7 separate regions of the Homo sapiens genome follow, and regions 1, 2, 3, 4, 6 and 7 are each linked to region 5. Evidence: promoter capture Hi-C in 16 types of primary human blood cells and fetal thymus (Javierre and others, 2016). All regions are on one chromosome and are shown on one strand. Each heading gives the region's core, a stretch centred on a gene start or on the middle of the fragment in contact. The rest is flanking DNA. Distances are from core to core; before and after follow the strand shown.

Evidence for each region. Contacts are between HindIII fragments. The CHiCAGO score rates a contact against its expected background, and 5 or more counts as called.
Region 1: a contact is called between a fragment that was not itself captured here and the fragment with the promoter of DUSP10 in region 5, in 1 of 17 cell types (total B cells). The highest score is 6.3, in total B cells.
Region 2: a contact is called between a fragment that was not itself captured here and the fragment with the promoter of DUSP10 in region 5, in 1 of 17 cell types (total CD8 T cells). The highest score is 6.9, in total CD8 T cells.
Region 3: a contact is called between a fragment that was not itself captured here and the fragment with the promoter of DUSP10 in region 5, in 3 of 17 cell types (M0 macrophages, M1 macrophages and M2 macrophages). The highest score is 6.7, in M0 macrophages.
Region 4: a fragment that was not itself captured here is called in contact with the fragment with the promoter of DUSP10 in region 5 in 1 of 17 cell types (naive CD4 T cells); the score reaches 5.5 in naive CD4 T cells.
Region 6: a fragment that was not itself captured here is called in contact with the fragment with the promoter of DUSP10 in region 5 in 2 of 17 cell types (M0 macrophages and M2 macrophages); the score reaches 5.9 in M0 macrophages.
Region 7: a contact is called between a fragment that was not itself captured here and the fragment with the promoter of DUSP10 in region 5, in 1 of 17 cell types (M0 macrophages). The highest score is 6.5, in M0 macrophages.

What each region holds. Positions count from the first base shown.
Region 1 is chr1:221,937,203-221,939,902 of GRCh38, forward strand. The region is part of intron 1 of LINC02257 (long intergenic non-protein coding RNA 2257); the gene reads right to left. Among named protein-coding and RNA genes, the nearest start is that of LINC02474, 28 kb to the right of the region's middle. RefSeq lists an enhancer at 2,288-2,467. The HindIII fragment of the contact is 3,460 bases long and covers 1-2,700 here.
Region 2 is chr1:221,518,838-221,521,537 of GRCh38, forward strand. No RefSeq gene overlaps it. Among named protein-coding and RNA genes, the nearest start is that of LINC02817, 180 kb to the left of the region's middle. The HindIII fragment of the contact is 1,138 bases long and covers 756-1,893 here.
Region 3 is chr1:221,991,909-221,994,608 of GRCh38, forward strand. No RefSeq gene overlaps it. Among named protein-coding and RNA genes, the nearest start is that of LINC02257, 15 kb to the left of the region's middle. RefSeq lists an enhancer at 531-580. The HindIII fragment of the contact is 1,605 bases long and covers 607-2,211 here.
Region 4 is chr1:221,490,976-221,493,675 of GRCh38, forward strand. It overlaps LOC105372934 (a long non-coding RNA gene), which reads right to left. Exons shown (of 3, transcript XR_922622.2): 3 at 1,313-1,351. Among named protein-coding and RNA genes, the nearest start is that of LINC02817, 160 kb to the left of the region's middle. The HindIII fragment of the contact is 3,246 bases long and covers 1-2,700 here.
Region 5 is chr1:221,740,832-221,743,531 of GRCh38, forward strand. It overlaps DUSP10 (dual specificity phosphatase 10), which reads right to left and starts at 1,258. Exons shown (of 4, transcript NM_007207.6): 1 at 1,150-1,258. RefSeq lists silencers at 245-294, 2,015-2,494 and enhancers at 328-965, 966-1,603, 1,075-1,264, 1,595-1,794, 1,604-2,241. The HindIII fragment of the contact is 7,400 bases long and covers 1-2,700 here.
Region 6 is chr1:221,549,494-221,552,193 of GRCh38, forward strand. All of the region lies in intron 1 of LOC107985462 (a long non-coding RNA gene), which reads left to right. It also overlaps the pseudogene LOC100132179. Among named protein-coding and RNA genes, the nearest start is that of DUSP10, 190 kb to the right of the region's middle. The HindIII fragment of the contact is 5,088 bases long and covers 1-2,700 here.
Region 7 is chr1:221,962,029-221,964,728 of GRCh38, forward strand. The region is part of intron 1 of LINC02257 (long intergenic non-protein coding RNA 2257); the gene reads right to left. Among named protein-coding and RNA genes, the nearest start is that of LINC02474, 3.0 kb to the right of the region's middle. The HindIII fragment of the contact is 866 bases long and covers 933-1,798 here.

The DNA.
Region 1 (2,700 bases), core at 175-2,674, 200 kb after region 5:
ACACATGTGCACATACAGACACATACACACACACACACACATATACGTGTGTGTATCTATATACACATAGAAAGAGAGAGGTGATTTACTATAACGAGTTGGCTCACATGATTTTGGAGGCTGAAAAGTCCCCAAATCTGCAGTTAGCAAGCTGGAGAAAAGCCAATGGTATAGTTTCAGTCTGAGTTTGAAGGTCTGAGAATTAGAATGTTCAATGTTGCAGTGCCAGTACGAAGGCTGAAAAAAGAAATAACGTCCCAGCCAGAAGGCAGTCAAGTAGGAGTTCCCTTTTACTCAAAAAGGGGTCAACTTTTATGTTCTCATCAGGACTTAAAGTGATTGGATGTGGCCCACCCACACAGGGAGCCCATCTACTTCACTCAGTCTACTGATTCCAGTGCTAATCTCATCCAGAAACACCCTCACAGACACACTTAGAATAATGTTTGACCAAATATCTGTGCACTTGTTACCCAACCAAATTGGCACATAACATTAACTATCACGTGTATATTGTATCTCAGGCATCCAGCACATTCCTACGCACAAAATTGTGCAAGGGACATTCTATGAGCCAAGGAGGGATAGAGTCAACGATTCTTAGTTGTGATCCCTCAGAGAGAACACACATGCAAACGCAGACACACAAACACACCCCAAAAGTATGCATCTACCAAAACAAGCCATATAAAGAACATTTTTAGCTTATTCCTTTCATTTTAAAGGCAAGGAAACAGGCCCAGAGAGGTAAAGTGACTTTCTCAAAGTTACACGTCAAATTAATGACTTCTCTAGAACTAACACTCAGGACTCTAGAATTTAAGTTCAATGCCAGTACAATGTTGTTTGTCATTTGTATGACCCTGCCTGTGATCCTGTAGGCCTCAGACATTCTAAAACCCCTTCTTCCTTTTGCCAAACCCTGTGTGATGAGGAGCTAACAGCCATGTGGCATGACTCTTCATGTCCTTCCAAATAGCAGAACCAGCCTTCCAGGGGGCAATGGTTCATTGTGGATCTAAAAGTACGTATTTTGAGAAGGAACGCAAAGTAGTTGGGAGGCAGATTCATAAGCTAATTGTTTTGGGCTTATTACAATCAATATCAGTTGCCCCAGGCCAAGGCTGCCTTTGCCTTGTCAGGCTGCTGACATTTTGTGCTTGGTCACCCAGCTCCTTGCTCCAAAGTGATACATTATTGATTTTCCTCCTGTCCCATTAAGGCCACCCTTTCATCTCCCCAGGGATAGATGATGCTTTTGCACACAGCTTGCATGTGCCCAGACTCCTTAGTGGGAAAGGCTATATAGGATGAGAAGGTTACCTTTGCAATTTCACACCCTCAGATTCTGTCTGCAGCTGAAGAAAATCCACTGTCACACAAATCATACTACCTGAATTTCCTAAATGCCCTTTTTCATCTTCCCCCATATGTCAACATTTTTTAAACTCAGAAAAAACATTTCTGCCTCCTCCCTGGGTTCCAATCGATGCTGGCCTTCAAACATATAAGGTGAGTTTTTTACCCATCTCTCTCTCTCCTGAACAGTGGGGGATGTTGGGAAAATCCTGGGATTTAAGGGATGACATACCTGGGCTCAAGACATGGCTTCCCCATTTACCCAAATGATGACCTTGGAATCCTTCTTTGAGCCTTCATCGCTTCATCCTTGAGAGAGGAAATAATAATACCTGCCCGATCACTTTATAAAATATTTAAATGAGATCACATGTGTGAAGCACCGAGTCTGGAACACAGTACGTGTCAATGCCTCATCCTTTTCTATTTCTCCTGCTGTCTCTTGGGAGACTGGAAGACTGTGGCCTCCCCAAGGTAGGGGCCACTCATTCCTCATCTTTGTCCCTAGCATCACATTTGGCACAGATTAATGTTTGGGGAATTGAGGACAACAAGGCAGATACACTTTTATAGATAATGACACTGCCTCTTAGAGAGATTCAGTGCCTTGTCCATGCCAAGACCACTGATAGAAATGAGTCTGTTAAGTTCCAGCATTTTGACTCTTTGTCTCATCTTTCATTCACTAAATCTTGGTGCCTTATGTTCACTCCAAAACAATCTGAACGCAACAACTATGCAGACTAAGTGTGTGGTTACTTCCTGACTTTTCCTCAGAGTTAACTAGTTCCAGCCTCTGTTTAATGGTAAACATAGATTTCCACCATAATCCGTACTGGCCCCACCTCTTGTCACCTGCAGCTGTCCTCTTCAACCTTCCCATAGCACAGCCTTCCTAGTTACCAGCAAATGGGAATTTGAAGCAGAAGGTGTTGAAATCATCTCAGCCCACCTCCACGTTACACAGACTTGAGACCCAGGGCTTTTGGGCTTCCATGCCAAGTTTCCAGCTGCAGTTTAGCCTCTTTTCAAACAGCAATTCTTTCGCCAAATGCTTCCACATGCTTCAGTTTCAGGTGTTAATTCTACCTTCTAAATTCTTGTTCTGAATATCAGCCCAGTGGCCAGGCTTCACTACCCAAGAGCTGCCAGCCTGTGGTCTGAATTTGCAAGTGTCTCCTGCATGCTTTCTCATTATTGGCTTCACCCACCTGCTTGGGTCCCTGGTATTGCACCAGCTGGCAGCCCCTGCTGGTGGTGACTGATGTCATAAACCACTACGAGAGCTAGTTGCTTCCCCCCAGACTCTTCTCTGTTGTCAACCAGATTGCCACTTAGCCT
Region 2 (2,700 bases), core at 75-2,574, 220 kb before region 5:
CATATGAATCAGCCACCATCTCTAAGTTTTATTTCATTCACCCATTAAATACCTCCCTTATCCCAGAGTGTTTGGGAGAATGGCATGTAAAAAAACCATTCAGAAAGACTTAAGTGCCATATATACACATGTAGTTATTATTATTAATCATTATCATTTGATCATTATGATATTATTGTATATATTATTTATATATTATTTATTACAATTGATATTTGAGGGGGAAGTTCAGGATGGTGATAATCAATTTTAAGGTAGGACATTAGGTTTAGGTAACATTCACTTGTGGTACAAAAAATTAATGGCAATATCTGGGTTTATATTTGTCCCTAAATTTCTTATTTATTGTCCTGACATCTTGGTTTAATATTTTTCTTTCAAGTTCAGCTAATGCTGCATGTGGAGAGATGTAGATAACTTGGTAAAAGGATGAGTTCCCAAGAAGAGATGAGCATAGTTCAGTCTTTATCAAGAAAGCACCATCACTTTTCCTATACACAGCAATGTGATTATATTTCAAGGACCCAAGTTTATTTTTGAAACAGATATTTATATTTCAGGCAGCCTGCTTAAAACACGTATTAGATTTGAAGTGAGAATTTATTGCCTTTGTGGCTTTGAAGTCTATATTTTTTATATGATCTTCCAGAAGGAGCTCAGATTCTGTCTTCAATGGAGACCTGGCAGAGCTACTGTTGAGGCAACTGGCTGGAGGAGAGGGGTTTTAGTGCTTGGTCGTGGGGAAGAATTTTCTAAGCTTATCTTATGGTGCCACAGATGCAGTTTATTCATTTATTTGCCCAACAAAATCTTATTAAGTCTCTGCTTTGTGGAAGTTTCTGTACTAGGCTCTGAGATAACTGTTGCTCCAAATCACTTGTGATAGCTCTGTGTCTCACCCATGTGAAATTTAAAGTCGTCTCTCTGTCCAAAGAGCACTCTAGTGAGAAGATTCTAGTTTACATTTTACTCCTTGAAAACTCTGATCCTGGCACTCTCGTGTCTTCCAGTGACATGAAAGGGTTAATGTATGTTTTTCAGCACCTGTCACAATTCTGGAGCAACTCAGGCAGTCAAAAGAAGAGGGCTCAATTGATGTAGGCACAAGTGTGTGGGCATTTGGAACACTATACATAGGTTGCTCTTTTATTCTCTCTTCCCTCCTCCCAGCTTTGGCCTGGGGACATGAGTGGTGACTTAAATGAACCACAAAACATTGCTGGGAAAATCTACAGTGTGCTGAAGGAGGCAGCAAAGCATTGAGATGAACAGATTTGGGAGCTTTCTGAGCAGGGGAGAGATAGCACCTAGTATTTATGGGACAGTTAAACTCCCATGTGCTCTGGTACTATGAATCTGGAAAAGTGTCATCCAGTCATCAACCCAGGACTTCTCACTGGCATTTATCAAAGTCATGATACCTTCCAAATGCGAATGATGGGACACAGCCAGACAGTTCATCCAGAACTACATTGTTATAACTCTTGTTGCTTCCTAAATGAAAGGATATATTTCATCTGCATGGATGGACAGTTGCTTTTCTTTTCTTCTCTTTTTTCTTTTCTTTTCTCCCTTCCTTCCTTCTTTCTTTTCTTCCTTCCTTCCTTCCCTCCTTTCTTCTTTCCTCCTTCCTTCCTTTCTTCTTCCTTCTTTCCTTCCTTCCTTCATCCCTTCCTTCCTTCTTTCTTCCCTAAAGCTCCTGCATTTACTTATTACCTGAGCAACTCCTGTAGGTCTTAAGATCCCAGAGGCAAAAGTATCCTAACATAGACTTACAGAGAAACAGCCACAGAAGTAGGTTTTTATCACCAGAGTGCTGCCGAATTCAACAGGAGCATCTGTGGAAAAGTAGAACAAGGTTTATTATTTTCAGAAGACTGGAGTTTGAACCCAAGCTTGCCACTTAGCAACATTTTGGCCTTGGGCTAGTTATAATCTTTCTGAACCATGCTGTTCATACCGTACACTCACTCCCTGACCGTGATCAATCTAATCATTAATAGATACTGCTGTAATGAATTTTTATACTTTCTACAAAATATCTCACTTGTCAGAACCCACCCATATCAGTCAGTTATTGTCACAGTAATGCTGTATAAGAAATATCTCAAAAGTCAATGGCTTAAAATAAACCATCTTTTATACTAACTCATGTAATTTTGGGTCAGCTCCAGGTTGAGTAATCCAGCCTAGTCTCTGTTGAGCTTGACTCCAATTTTCAGTTTGAGTTCAGGCCTTCTCCATGTGTGTCTCATTCTCTTTGGACCATAACTAGCTATGGCATGCTGTTCTCATTGTCTTCATCTGTAACTTGGGTGCATAAATGCCTGCTCTGGTTGTTCATTCCACAAAGTCTGGGTTCTTTCTATGTGCCCAGTACTGTGCTACACACTAGAGACACAACTCTGTTCCTGGTCCCAGGGAGTGGAAAGAGAAACACTGAACATATAAGCATGGTTAGGGTCATGAAGAAAAAGTGTAGCACATGGCAGAATCAGGAAATAGGAAGTCCTTACTTATTCTGGAGAGTCTCCTCAAGGAAATACTGTTTATACTGTTTGAGCTGAGATAGGAAAAACAAGCGTTCAATTATTAGATATTGGGATATCAGGAAGATTCCAGGCCTAGGGAAGAGGGTGTGTGAAAGGCATGGCGGGGAAGACAACAGTGCATGTTATTTACAATATAGTATTGTGAGAC
Region 3 (2,700 bases), core at 159-2,658, 250 kb after region 5:
CTGAGTTTAAAGCTCTGATTATCTCTGACTCTGCTGCCAGCTCTTTGACACCCCAAGGTTCTATAGTGCTGAGTAGTGAAGTCTTTTGGAAGTAAATAGAAAATAGCTTTTGTTTCCTACTAGGAGATCACAATTCCACCTGCACTGTCTTTTCCACCTTCCCATGGAGAGGCTCCCATGCATCAGCTATTTACTATTTCAGTTTTTTAATGGAGTTCTTACTTGCCTTGGGCTAGAGACTGAGCTAGAACTGGGAATACAAAAGATAAGACAAGGTACCGGCCTGTGAAGCATACCATCTAGCAAGAGAAATGGCTCCTTGGAGAATGGCAGCACAGAGGAGAGTTAACCCCCACTGAGAGTTTGAAAAGGGCTTCAAAGAATAAAAAGGAAGAAAAAGGAAACTATGGCTTATTGGGATAAAAAATTAAATGGCTTATTCACCTATTTTGCCAAGTACAAAGCTAGTTGCTTTATGTACATAAATGTATTTATCCTATGAAAATGCTTAATAGGAGGCCAGTAGGCTGCAGAAACTCCAGCACCCTGGGTCTCTTCCTAAGCAAACCAAAACCCAACTCAATGTAAACAGTGAAACAAAGCTTAAGCTTATCCTATCAGAAATCACCAAGTAGCTTCTAACTAGGGACTTTACCAATCAGAAACCACCAACTAATCTCTAACTAGGGACTTTCCATTTTAACCAATCAAATGCTTCCTCTGTCTTTCTTTCACAAACACCGTATAAAAGTATCCCCTTCGCACCCCTTCAGTGGAGTGCCAAACCACTTGTGGTCTAATGCTGCCCAGGTCATGAAATGCTGAATGCTCAAACTCATTAGAATGTTAATATGCCTAAGTTCATTTTTTAACAATCCTTACATTAATCTTAAGAGGTAGATATTGTTTTCCACAATATAAAGCTAAGCAAAGTTGGGCATGAAGAGAGTAATACATTCCCTTGTGTCCACAGAGTTAGCACATGATGGGGCAGTGATCAGGCCAAGGTGTATTGGATTCTATAGCATTCCCTCTTCGAGATGTGAAATTTTACCTGGACCCTAAACAATCACAAAGATGTCTCCCATTAGTGAAGGGGAAGTTTCTCCGAGTAGAAGGAGCTAAAAGAACAAAATCAGAGAGTTTGGATTACACTAGTGGTCACAACGTAAAGGCAGACACAGGCAGTCTCAGGACATAAGGTTGGAAGACAGGTAACTCCAAATGTTCTAGATGCTCTTCTGGGCTGCTGTGCTCTAGGGACTGAGGAGCTATGGAAATGGGAGCAACTTGACTTGATTTTTGCCCTTTAAAGCTGCTTCTTTAACAACAGTGTAAAGCAGTGGTCCCCAACATTTTCGACATCAGGGACAGGTTTGTGGAAGACAATTTTTCCACAGACCGGATTGGAGGGATGAATGAAGTGTATTACATTTATTGTCCACTTTATTTCTATTATTATTACCTTGTAATATATAATGAAATAATTTTACAACTCATCATAATGTATAATCAGTGGGAGCCCTGAGCCTGTTTTTCTGCACTACAAGGTCCCATCTAGGGGTGATGGGAGACAGTGACAGATCCTCAGTCATTACAGTCTCATAAGGAGCACACAACCTAGATCCCTTGCATGCACAGTTCACAATAGGGTTCATGCTTCTATTAGAATCCAATGCCAACACTGATCTCACAGGAGGTGGAGCTCAGGTGGTAATGCCAGTGATGAGGAGCAGCTGTAAATACAGATGAAATTTTGCTTGATTGCCTGTCTCTCACCTGCTACTGTGAGGCCTGGTTCCTAACAGGCCATAGACTGATACTGGTCCATGGCCCAGGGATTGGAGACCCCTGGTGGAAAGGATGAATTAGAAAAGAGTGAGATTGTGTTCATTCATTTACTCATTTGCAGGCACTCATGAAATGATACTGGGGAAAGGAGACCAGTGAAAAAATGACAGCAGTAGCCCAGAAGAGAGATGATGAGGACATGAGCCAAGCTCTTGCTTCCCTGTCTTTGACATTTCAGTACATGGAGAAGACCTAGGAAAGCCCATAGGGCATATGCTTGGAATTCTGAGAGCTATCGGGAGGTCTAAAGTAACCCCTGAGCCAAGATCTTTGGGGCTACATAATAGAAATGAATTTAAACTAGACCTGAAGGTTTGTACCTTTTTACAAGAATGCTTCAGAAACAGACCTGGTCCTCAAAGCTTCAAGGCCCAATGGGGATTCTTATCTCCTTTGGGAAGGAACTAGGGAGTCTTGATTCAAATGTCTCCGGACCCTCCCGAATATATATCCTCTTAACAGAAGAAAGAGCTGTTCTCGCTTAACCAGGCCTCTAATGCTAGTTAGAAAAAGAACAGGGTTCTAAGACATCAACTGCTTGCCTGAAAGGGGAAGAGAATCAGCTGACTCATATACTGGTCCTTTTAGGCTGCATGGTTTGAGTCATGATGCTCAGGAGAGTTTCCAGCACAGCAGACCTCAGGGAAGGCAGGGCTTAAATCCAGGTAGCCCACTGTGGAGTCAGGAAAGCTGTAGGGACAAACTGGAAGTTGATGGCAGAGAGGTGTTTTCACTGAGGTGCAGATCAACACAGCACCATCCTACAGCCCCATGGAGTCCAAAGGGAGGCCAAGAGGATGTGGAAAGAGTGAGATGGTACACCCACTTCCTAGAGTTGCACTGACTTTT
Region 4 (2,700 bases), core at 143-2,642, 250 kb before region 5:
TGTGGTAGAAGACTGAATGAGCCAGTCCTGGAGTCCCTACTACTCATACTCCATTGGCCGGAACTCAGTCACATGGCCACATCTGACCATGAGGCAGTCTGGGAAATGGATTCCAGCTGTGTTCCAATGAGGAAGCAGGTTCGATGAAGATCTAACCAATCTCTCTCTCACAGAGGTATCAAAAAGCATTAAAGAAAGGCAGTGCTATTTTCCTTTCAAATTCTACTCCAACTCATTCTCTTACTCTGTAAATAGCTTCAGCATCTGCTCAACTTTCCACATTATTTCAGTCACTAAGTCTGTACTAGTCCATTTTCATACTGCTATAAAGAACTGCCTGAGACTGGGTAATTTATAAAAGAAAAAGGTTTATTGACTCACAGTTCAGCATGGCTTGGGAGGCCTCAGGAAACTTACAATCATGACAAAAGGTGAAGAGGAAGTAAGGCACCTCCTTCACTAGGTGAAAGGAAGGAGAAGTGTTGAGCGAAGGGGGAAGATCCCATTATAAAACCATCAGATCTCGTGAGAACTCTCACCATCACAAGAACAGCAGGGGGGAACAGCCCCCATGATTCAATTACCTCCACCTGGTCCCACCCTCCACACATGGAGATTATGGGAATTAAAATTTGAGATGAGATTTATGTGGGGAAAAGAGCCAAACCATATCAAAGTCCGTTTGTTTTCTCATTCATTTAACAAACATTTTCTGGCTATTAATCATTTTGCCAGGAACTGTGCTAGACACTGGGAACATAATAGTGAAAAAGACACAATATTTTATTATTAGTCAATGATAATGGACTGAAAGAAGAATATAGTTGACCCTTGAACAACGAGGGGATTAGGGACACTGACACCCTGTGCAGCTGAAAATCCATGTATAACTTTTGAATCTTCCAAAACAACTCATGCCTGTAATCCCATTACTTTGGGGAGGCCAAGGCAGGCAGGTCACTTGAGCCCAGGAATTTGAGACCAGTCTGGGAAAAATGGCAAATCCCTATCTCTACAAAAAAAATTCAAAATTATCCAGGCATGGTACTGCATGCCTGTAGTCCCAGCTACTTAGGAGGCTGAGGTGGGAGGATCGCTTGAGTCCAGACCCGAAAACTTAACTACTTATAGCCTACTATTGACCAGAAGCCTTACTGAGGACATTAACAGTCAATTAACACATATTTGTATGATATGTGTATTGTATACTGTATTCTTGTAATAAAGAAAGCTAGAGAAAAGAAAATGTTATTCAGAGAATCATGAAGAAGAGAAAACATACTTACTATTCATTAAGTGGAAGTGGATCATTATAAAGGTCTTCATCCTCATCATCTTCACATTGAGTAGTCTGAGGAACAGGAGAAAGGAGAGGGTTGGTCTTGCTGTCTCAGGGGTGATAAAGGTGGAAGAGGTAGAGGAGGTGGGAGAGGAAGCATATATTATATTATAAAAGTAGTATAGTATGTGCTACAGTTATTTTATGCAGTTATGATTTAATATGTGTTTACTTTTTTAACATTTCTCCGTACTGTAAATGGCACCATCTGTGATCTGTGTTTGTGTGTGCAAGTTTTGATTTTTTAACTTTTTATAATAGATTTGCATATATTTTGATATGATAAATGATAACAGACTAGTATCTGCATATATTTCATGCATTTCTAACATACCTTTTTCTTATTTTTTTGATATTTATAGGCCATGCAGTTCATCTGCAAGTTTTCTCTAATTGTCAAAAATCTCCAAAAATTTTTCCAATAGGTTTATTGAAAAAAATCCACATATAAGTGAACCTGCACAGTTCAAACCTATGCTATACAAAGATCAACTGTACAGTAAAGGTGATGTTTTCAAAATGTAAATCAGGTCATATTACTCTCCTGATTAAAAGTCTCCAAAAGTTTTTCCATTGCTCTGTAGGAAAAAAAATGTAAATGATTTGAAATGGCAAAAGAGATTACTGGGTGTTGTATTAGTCAGTTCTCACACTGCTAGTAAAGACAGACTTGAGACTGGGTAATTTATAAAGAAAAAGAGATTTAATGGACTGCCAGTTCCACGTGGCCAGGGAGACCTCACAATCATGGCAGAAGGCAAAAGAGGAGAAAGTCACATCTTACATGGCAGCAGGCAAGAGAGCTTGTGCAGGGTAACTCTCATTTATAAAACCATCAGATCTCCTGAAACTTATTCACTACGACAAGAACCACATGGGGGAAACTGCCTCCATTATTCAATTATCTCCACCTGGCCCCACCCTTGACACATGGGGATTATTACAATTCAAAGTGAGATTTGGGTGGAGACACAGGCAAACCATATTAGTGTGTTTTTAATGAGAATATTAGATGTTCTCTGGATGACCCTCTAGGATTATCTCATTCTATAGGATTTAGGCTTATTTTACAAGTCATAAATTGTAAAAAAAAATGTAATAATATAAATGATTCTTGCTTATAGAAATGCAAATGATTTTTCCTGGCAGAATACAATTGATTTCTACCCTGTGGAAAAGGTTATTCTAAGTCTTGAGTTGTATTGTCTTATAGCTATTAAGAGTTTTGCTTCTATTGGCAAATTTATTTCACAATTCCTGATTGTGTGTGTGTGTGTTTGTGTATTCTTCAGATATATTGATGTATATATATATATATCATATTCTGATTGAACCAGTTTAACATTTTACTGGTTTCCTTA
Region 5 (2,700 bases), core at 8-2,507:
GTGTCTGCAAAAAGACAGCTCCTTCCTCCTGTAGGCACAGGGGCACTCTACAACTCAGGCTTGCTAACTCTTCTTCTTCTATTAGACATGCACATAGCAAAGACGCCAAACCCCACGCCAAGAGACGCTCACCTAAACGAACTTTAAGAGCTATCAGGAAAAATGCCATCTATCATCCGTCTACACACGACCGTCACCATTCTCATCCGTCTACACACGACCGTCACCATTCTCTGACACAGAACCAAAGTGTCACAGGCGGAATCCACACTCACGCGCGCACACGGGGCACGCACCCATCACGTCGGCAGATCTCCAACGACTCGGGTTTCTCTCACCCACCTTTGGATGGGAGCGAAGGAGTCAACCCCCCTTCCCTTGCGTAGTATTTTTTCTGAAGAGCGAGTTCTATTCCAGAAGCTATAACTGTTTCCCGGTTGGACCAAGCGGTGAAAGTCTTTGCTATTGTGTTACCTGGTAGGACACGTCCAGGATCAACATACCATTTCTTCTGAGAGGGACGCATAAGCGTGTTCACAGAGACACGCGCTGGGACCCCCACCTCCACACAGAGTTCAAGGCTCACACACACACACACGGAGTGTATAGAGAGACCTGCATCCCTGCAGCAGAGGGTCGGGCGTACATACTGCCCGTGAAACCATCCAGTCTGGCCCAGAAAATCTCCCAGAGAAATACTGAGCTATCCCCTCTCCCTTCCACCACTAGGCAAGAGCTGGAGAGAAAATTAAGTGGTTAGAGAATGCTTCTTCCCCATTCCTGGAGCACTTAACATCCCCCCGCCCCCCGCTTCACTCCTCGGCACACAGCGCACTAATGAGCCCCGAGCATTTAAAACTGCCGCAAAGCATCCCAACAAACCTCATTTTTTCTTCGCCCCAAATCCAAGTAGACTGCAGGGAGTAAACGCACAGGGTAGCAGGAGCCAACGGCCGGAACCTTATAACCCTACCTGCTGTAGCTCCTCCGTCAGCATCGCATCTCTATCTTTCTGTCTCTGTCTCTCTCTCACACACACACAGATACACACACACAAACACACACACTCACACTCACACAAGCACCGCCTTACAATCCTCCACCTCCAGTCCCGGGCTCTCAGGAGTAGTCGCGGTGACTTCCACTTACTTCATAAATAAGTGTATTCCTCCACCATCTGGCGCTCCTCTTCAGCTATGGACTCGCACATTCAGCCCCCATTCACTCGGCTTCATTGATCTCCAGCAGCAACATAGTTACTTTCTCTTTTGCTACACTGTAAATGTAAGGTTCTGAGGGGGCGGACTCGCCGCCGACCGACGGCGGGTTGGGCCAATAAGAATCCGGAGAAAGCCGACCGCTACCTCACAGAGCCCCGCGACCAATGGGCAGCCTAGGGGGCGGGTAAGAAGGCGTGGCCTCATCTCTTTAAGGAGGGTTTATCCGAAGCTGCTCTGGGTCCTCGGTGTTAAAACACGGGCGGTGATGTCATTGGCAACCAATCAAAAACTTAAAAGAGCCAGCCGGGGCCGCGCGGAGCAGCTGCTCTCTATTTACATGTAAACCGAACCGGCAGGATGCAGTTAACCCTTTACCAGGCTGAAGTGTCAGCGGGCTGGACGCGCTGCTCCGCTAAAACTGGCTCTTCCCACTGGACGGGATCCTCCAACACTCCCTCACCCGGGGACAAACCACGCTATTTTTCCTCCTTACTATGGACAGATGATCAAAAGTATCGGAGTAACTTTCTAAAGGAAAGAGACTGCGATCACCGTCCCTAGTGGGAAAGCCGGGTTCTCTCCGAGTCGCTCGAGGTGACTTGACAAACGCTAAGCCAAAATTCGCGGACCTCGCCGGGTCTTCTGCGCTAGGACCAGCATGAGCGCGCAGCCAGGGGCGACGCTTCCGCTCCGAGCCGCGGCCCGGGGCCACGCGCTAAGGGCCCGAACTTGGCAGCTGACCGTCCCGGACAGGGAGGCCCTTCAGCCTCGACGCGGCCTGCGTCCTCCGGAGGGCCCTGCTCCGCCCGGGAAGCGTCCGCCTCCCGCCCGCCCGCCCGCAGATGTCGCTGCCCCTCTGGCTGTCCCGGCCTGACCGCCGCGCGCCGCCCTGCTGCTCACCTACTTCCGCGCCACGGTCACGCCCCTGCCGTCCCCAGGCTAACCCTCCCGGGGCTCGACCCAGAGCACTAAGGCGGCGCCACTGAGGGCTGCTCGGAGGAGGAGGCTTGAGTCGACGCCAGAGGCGGCAAGGGACGCGCCCTGAGCAGCGGTGCAGAGGCCAATCCCCTGGCCGGGCGTCCTGGGGCCCGCTACGCGCCCGCTGCCCCTCCGGGTCTGGGTCCCCGCCCGCCGCCGCCCCCCTTTCCCGCCTGGCGCGCTGGGTCCCCGCGCCGTGCCAGCAGCGCGCAACCCACCCGCCCCACATGCCTCGGCCGCCACCCCTCGGTCCCGCACGGCCCCTGCCGAGGCCAGGACCGGCAGCCCGGCGCTTCTGGAACAGCCGCAGCTGGCGGAAAAGAGCCAGAGCCGAGTGCAAATAGCTAGATTGAATGGGGCCGGAGGAGCGTGGAGGAGGTGACGCCGCCTCTCCCCGCTCCCCTGACTTTGGCCGGCGCCAGGTAGCTGGCCGCAGCTCCTGATCAGGGAGAAGAGTAGGGGGCGGGGCAAGCCGCCCCTTGCCTAGTCCGGAAAATATTCT
Region 6 (2,700 bases), core at 117-2,616, 190 kb before region 5:
GTTAGTAAGTAAATATATGAATGTAATGTAGTACAGGGGTGGCTATAATTTATACAATCATATTTGAAAAGAAGCATGAACAATTTTAGTTTTAAAGGATTAAGTTACAAAAAGTATGCTAAAAATGAAGATTTCATTTTAGAATAAAATATCTTTTCTATTACATCTTGCAAACTACCATTCAATAAATTGTACATGCAATTTTTTTACTTCTTTGAAAGTAATTGGCTTATTTAACGATTTGTATCTTCTTGAGGTGACTTTCTTTTCATCATAAAAACCCAGTTGAGTACTTTGTAGCAATTTACATTTTCTTCCTTCCTGTTTATAGAGTACAGAATGAATATAAGCTCTTATTCTTACACCAAATAACTACATAAAATGCCAAGACTCTGGTTAATTAACAGTGGATCTTTAAATAACACATGTCCTCCAAATAAAGCAAGTCAGAACTTGAAGTGCCCAAACATGTCATAGGTGACTGATGAAGTGTACCTAGTGACCCAGTGAATTGATAAGTTCACCATGACAACCATTATTTCAGATAGCTGCACCATAGGCAAAGCAGAAGCTGACCAGAGACTAGATATTTCTTGCTCTCCATGCACTGACTCAGAGAAGCAACCAATAACAGCAGAAGGTATTGGTGCTTGATAGTGCTGCAGCAGCATTGAGTTTACTTGAAACTCATTCTGCTTGGTTTCTGCCCACACTGGATAAGGGGGTATAACTAAAACACTGAGAGCAGAAAACATCCTTCCAAGGACATTACATTTCACATTGTAATAAGAATTTAGGATTACACCTAAAGTTACAGGAATCAGTGTTGTGTTATATTCTGGTGAAGAAGGCCTTCTGGTAGCAGAGGGTCTGCATGGCCATAATCACCAGTGTAATGATGACCTTGATCAGCTGATGGACGCCTGTGGAGTTGCCCTGCAGAGAGAAGTTGGTGAAGACCTTGTAATCACAGAAGCTAAAGGCCAGAAGGAGGATCTTGGGGTGGCAGACATGTTGAGGCAAATATAACCAATTTCTGACAGATGTGCAAGCGCAGCCAGGTGACCACAAGATGCCCCAGGGTCAGGTTCATGTTAGGGATCCTTTTGTTGATGAACATGATGCAGATGGACACCACCAGGTTGCGGAGGGGCCTAGTGATGATGCTTGCTTTGTGCCACTGTTACCGGGGGTCCTTGCTCCCAGAGCTCCCAAGATGGTGGCGGGCCGCTTCCAAAATGGTGGAGGGCCACTTCCAAGATGGTGGCAAGCCTCGTGTTCTCTGACCTGGGGTTCTTGGCCTGACAGATTCCAAAGAATGGAATCTTGGGCCATGCGGTGAGTGTTATAGCTCTATTAGAAGCTGCGGGTCACGGAAGAGAACGGTGGAACCCAGTGACTAGTGTTCAGTTTGATTAGGATGAACCTGGGCACTTAGCCGTGCAGGAAGGGCAAGCCTTTAGCTGAATAGGGAGTGGCATAGGCGACTCACTGGATCAGGAGCGCAGCAGACACCCTGCCTGATCTGGAGGGATGGAAGTCAGTGGCGGGTCTGTGACAGCGGCAAACAGCAGTGGTGGACAGCGAGCGAAAGCTCAGCTTGAGCAGTAACAAGCACAGACCAAAAGAGAGTGCAGTTGCAAGATTTAATAGAGTGAAAACGGAGCTCCGATACAAAGGGAGGGGACCCAAAAGGGGTAGCCTTTGCTGGCTCGAATGCCTGGGTTTATATCCCGATCATTTTCCCTCCTGCTGTGCTCTCAGGCAATAGATGATCGGCTATTTCTTTACCTCCTGTTTTTGCCTAATTAGCATTTTAGTGAGCTCTCTTTACTATCTGACTGGTCGGATGTGAGCTAAGTTGCAAGCCCCGTGTTTAAAGGTGGAAGTGGTCACCTTCCCAGTTAGGCTTAGGGATTCTTAGTCGGCCTAGGAAATCCAGCTAGTTCTGTCTCTCACCACCATAAAGAGCAGCACACTCATCATCTTCCAGGCAAGCAGCCATCCCTCAGCACACACCACTACCCCAGTCCAATCATGGGTACTCTTGAAGACACATAGTTGTAATGGGTAAGAGGTTCGGTCCTTATGGTAGGACAGGAGTAGATATTTTAGTTCACAAAGGATTTGGAATTCCTCAAATCACTTTCTTGGGGCATCTCTTTACTTTGCCTACACAGTGACCCTTTGGGAAATGGCACCAGGTGTCCCAGGCTGGTGCTTAAAGTGGGAATATTAAGGTAAGATGTGGCAGATTCTACCAGATAGAATATCACTATGCTTCCTTCCAAAGGGAGCCTTATTCAACTCCTCTCTGCAATTGTTTGTATACAGAATGTGCCAAAGGTTCCAAGGAGAATCTTAAACTCTCACACCACATGTGACCCAGTGGAATGCAGAGGGCAGGGCCTCCTTCCGGAAACACATCAGCCCTAGTCCTAGCTCCAATCCTTCTTGCTGAGGGGCCTCAGCTCTGTTACCTACCCCCTCTATGTCTCAGTTTTCTTACAAGTAAAATGATAATATTAATAGTAGCTAGCTCATATGATTAGAAGGATTAACTGAGTACATAAAGCACACAGAACATGCCTGGCACAGAGTGGGTGTAACTGTCTCATGAGCGACCATGACTTAGAATAATCAATTTCAGGAGTCCTCCTGGGTGGCAGGATTATCCTTTATATATATTCCAAAACTGTT
Region 7 (2,700 bases), core at 116-2,615, 220 kb after region 5:
TCCATGAGAAAGACAGAGGAACCCCTTCACCCCCGCCCCTCCAAAAGGGACTACAGCATTTTTCCTATGTTTCTCAGAAGGTCTCAGGGTTTTCAGCAGTCTCCTTCAGTTTCCTTTGTGGTCACCAGATTTGCCAAAGGACAAAATTACACGTTTAGTTTGAAGATCTCGACTAGCTTTATTGCAATTCTAGGATTGGGCAATGTCTCATTCCATAAAATAGAATAAGTGTCCCAAAGAGTTGAGCAGAGGGGATTCATTTTATAGACAGAGGGGGTTGAAGAAACCAGAAGCAAAGAACAAAATGTGGACTCGTCCTTTGAAAGTTACCTCCCTTACAAGGTGAGAACAAGGAAACAGAACAATAGAGAAATAACAGATTTGTTAGCATCAGGTTACGTCGGGTTACTTTTGTTGTAAGGATTAAAACAGAGGGAACTTCGTTATCCTGCTCATTAAAGACGGAAACTGGTCTGCTTGGAACATTGGCTGTTACTGCTCTGTCCTGATTTTGGGGAAGATGAAATAACAACTTATTTTCAGTTTGGTGATATGGAACTTTGGCATGGGTGACTCCATTTTGATTTTTAGTCTGGTCTGTTGGGGCCTAATACAAAACAATAGCCTTTCATAATTTTTACTTAACATTAGGAAATAAGACACAAAGCTCATATCTTTATCAAATCTAAGGGTCTTTGGTCCATTGACCATTCATGTGCACTCCTTTTGACATTTTTCCCAGGCTGACTGTGAATTTAGCATAGTTCTGATTCTTTACTTGCAATAACAGCAGTTACTCTGTGACAGGCACTCTTCTCAGCGCTTTTCACCCAGTAACTCATTTAATCCATACAAGGTCCTGTAATAAAGGGACTATGGTCTACATCTTAAACGGGCAGTACCTGTGCAAGGTTGGTGAGATCGTTCTCCCAAGCTTGCACAGCAAGAAGGATCAGGATTTGAACTCAGACCCAGGACCCAGATGCTTGACCGATTAAGCCAGAGCAGCCTCAGAGCCCAAGTTCCAGAAAGTGTAGGGGAGAAAACAATAAATTTTCTCTTTCACCTTGATGAGTTTTTTCTGAGCTTCTCTGTAAAAAAGACAAATTAACAAGAGAAAAACAAACAGAATTCTGATAAAATGTGTACCTATGGGAGACAACCCAGAGAAATGAGTAAATCTCTGCAGCAGATCTCAAAGAATTATCCTAGACCTCACCCTTAAGTACTATCCTTCTCTGAAACAAAGAGAGAAGGCTGAGGGGAATGATGCAATTAAGAAATGTTGGCCATGGCTGGGCATGGTGGCTCACACCTGTAATCTCGGCACTTTGAGAGGCTGAGGCAGGCAGATCACAAGGTCAGGAGTTCGAGACCAGTCTGGCCAACATGTTGAAACTCCATCTCTACTAAAAATACAAAAATTAGCCAGGCGTGGTGGTGGTTGCCGGTAATCCCAGCTATTCAGGAGGCTGAGGCAGGAGAATTGCTTGAACCCAGGAGGCAGAGGTTGCAGTGGGCCAAGATCATGCCACTGCATTCTGGCCTGGGTGACAGAGTAAGACTCTGTCTCAAAAAAAAAAAAAAAAAAAAAGAAAAAGAAAAGTTGGCCAGGAAAAGCACCGTTAAAGAAGCATAATATTTGATAACTAGATTTAAGTTGATGCCTTCTCTAGGGAATTAGTTCTTCTTTTCTTTCTGATGCAGAAAGGAGACACCCTTACAATGGAGGTTTTCTTTACAGATGTAAATTTATCTTATGAAATCATAACTGTTTTCAAAACTAATTTGTTTTCAAAGCTTCTCTGTGTTTGCTATTTCCCAAAATAGCTCAAAATAATCCTTAGGCCAAAAAGGCATATTTGGGGTAGTATGTCCTGAGCCCCATCATTAGTCATCTTTATTACCCTGGCCAAAGGTCTCCTTGCTCATGACAGTCAAAGACTAAAGGACAGAGGGAACTTTTTAATAATGAGAGTTTGCTGACATGCACACACGTGTCATCCACTTTCTGATTAAAAAAAACAGAGAATACATTACTGTGGCCCAAACCTGACATTTTAAGCCATTTGAGATACCCAATAGTCTAGAAAGAATGCTCCTGAGAATTAAAATGAAAGAAATGTCTCCAACCAAATTAGAGACTACTAAATGAATCTTATTAAGAAGCCAAGTGGAAACCCTATCTCAGAGAACAAATTAGGACATAGAAATCAAATTGCCGGCCGGGCGCGGTGGCTCACGCCTGTAATCCCAGCACTTTGGGAGGCCGAGGCGGGCGGATCACGAGGTCAGGAGATCGAGACCATCCTGGCTAACACGGTGAAACCCCATCTCTACTAAAAATACAAAAAAAAAATTAGCCGGGCGTGGTAGCGGGCGCCTGTAGTCCCAGCTACTTGGGAGGCTGAGGCAGGAGAATGGCGTGAACCCGGGAGGCGGAGCTTGCAGTGAGCCGAGATCGCGCCACTGCACTCCAGCCTGGGCGACAGAGCGAGACTCCGTCTCAAAAAAAAAAAAAAAAAAAAAAAATCAAATTGCCATCATTAAACCAAAAACAAAATTCTAAGTCCCTCAACCAACTGAATGGACCCCCTTCTCTCAGCCAAGGGCCTTCTAAAACACTAAACCTGAAACACTAGTTCAGGCCATGATGGGAATAGGTGGTCAGGCATGTCACATTACACTTTCCTCCCTGTG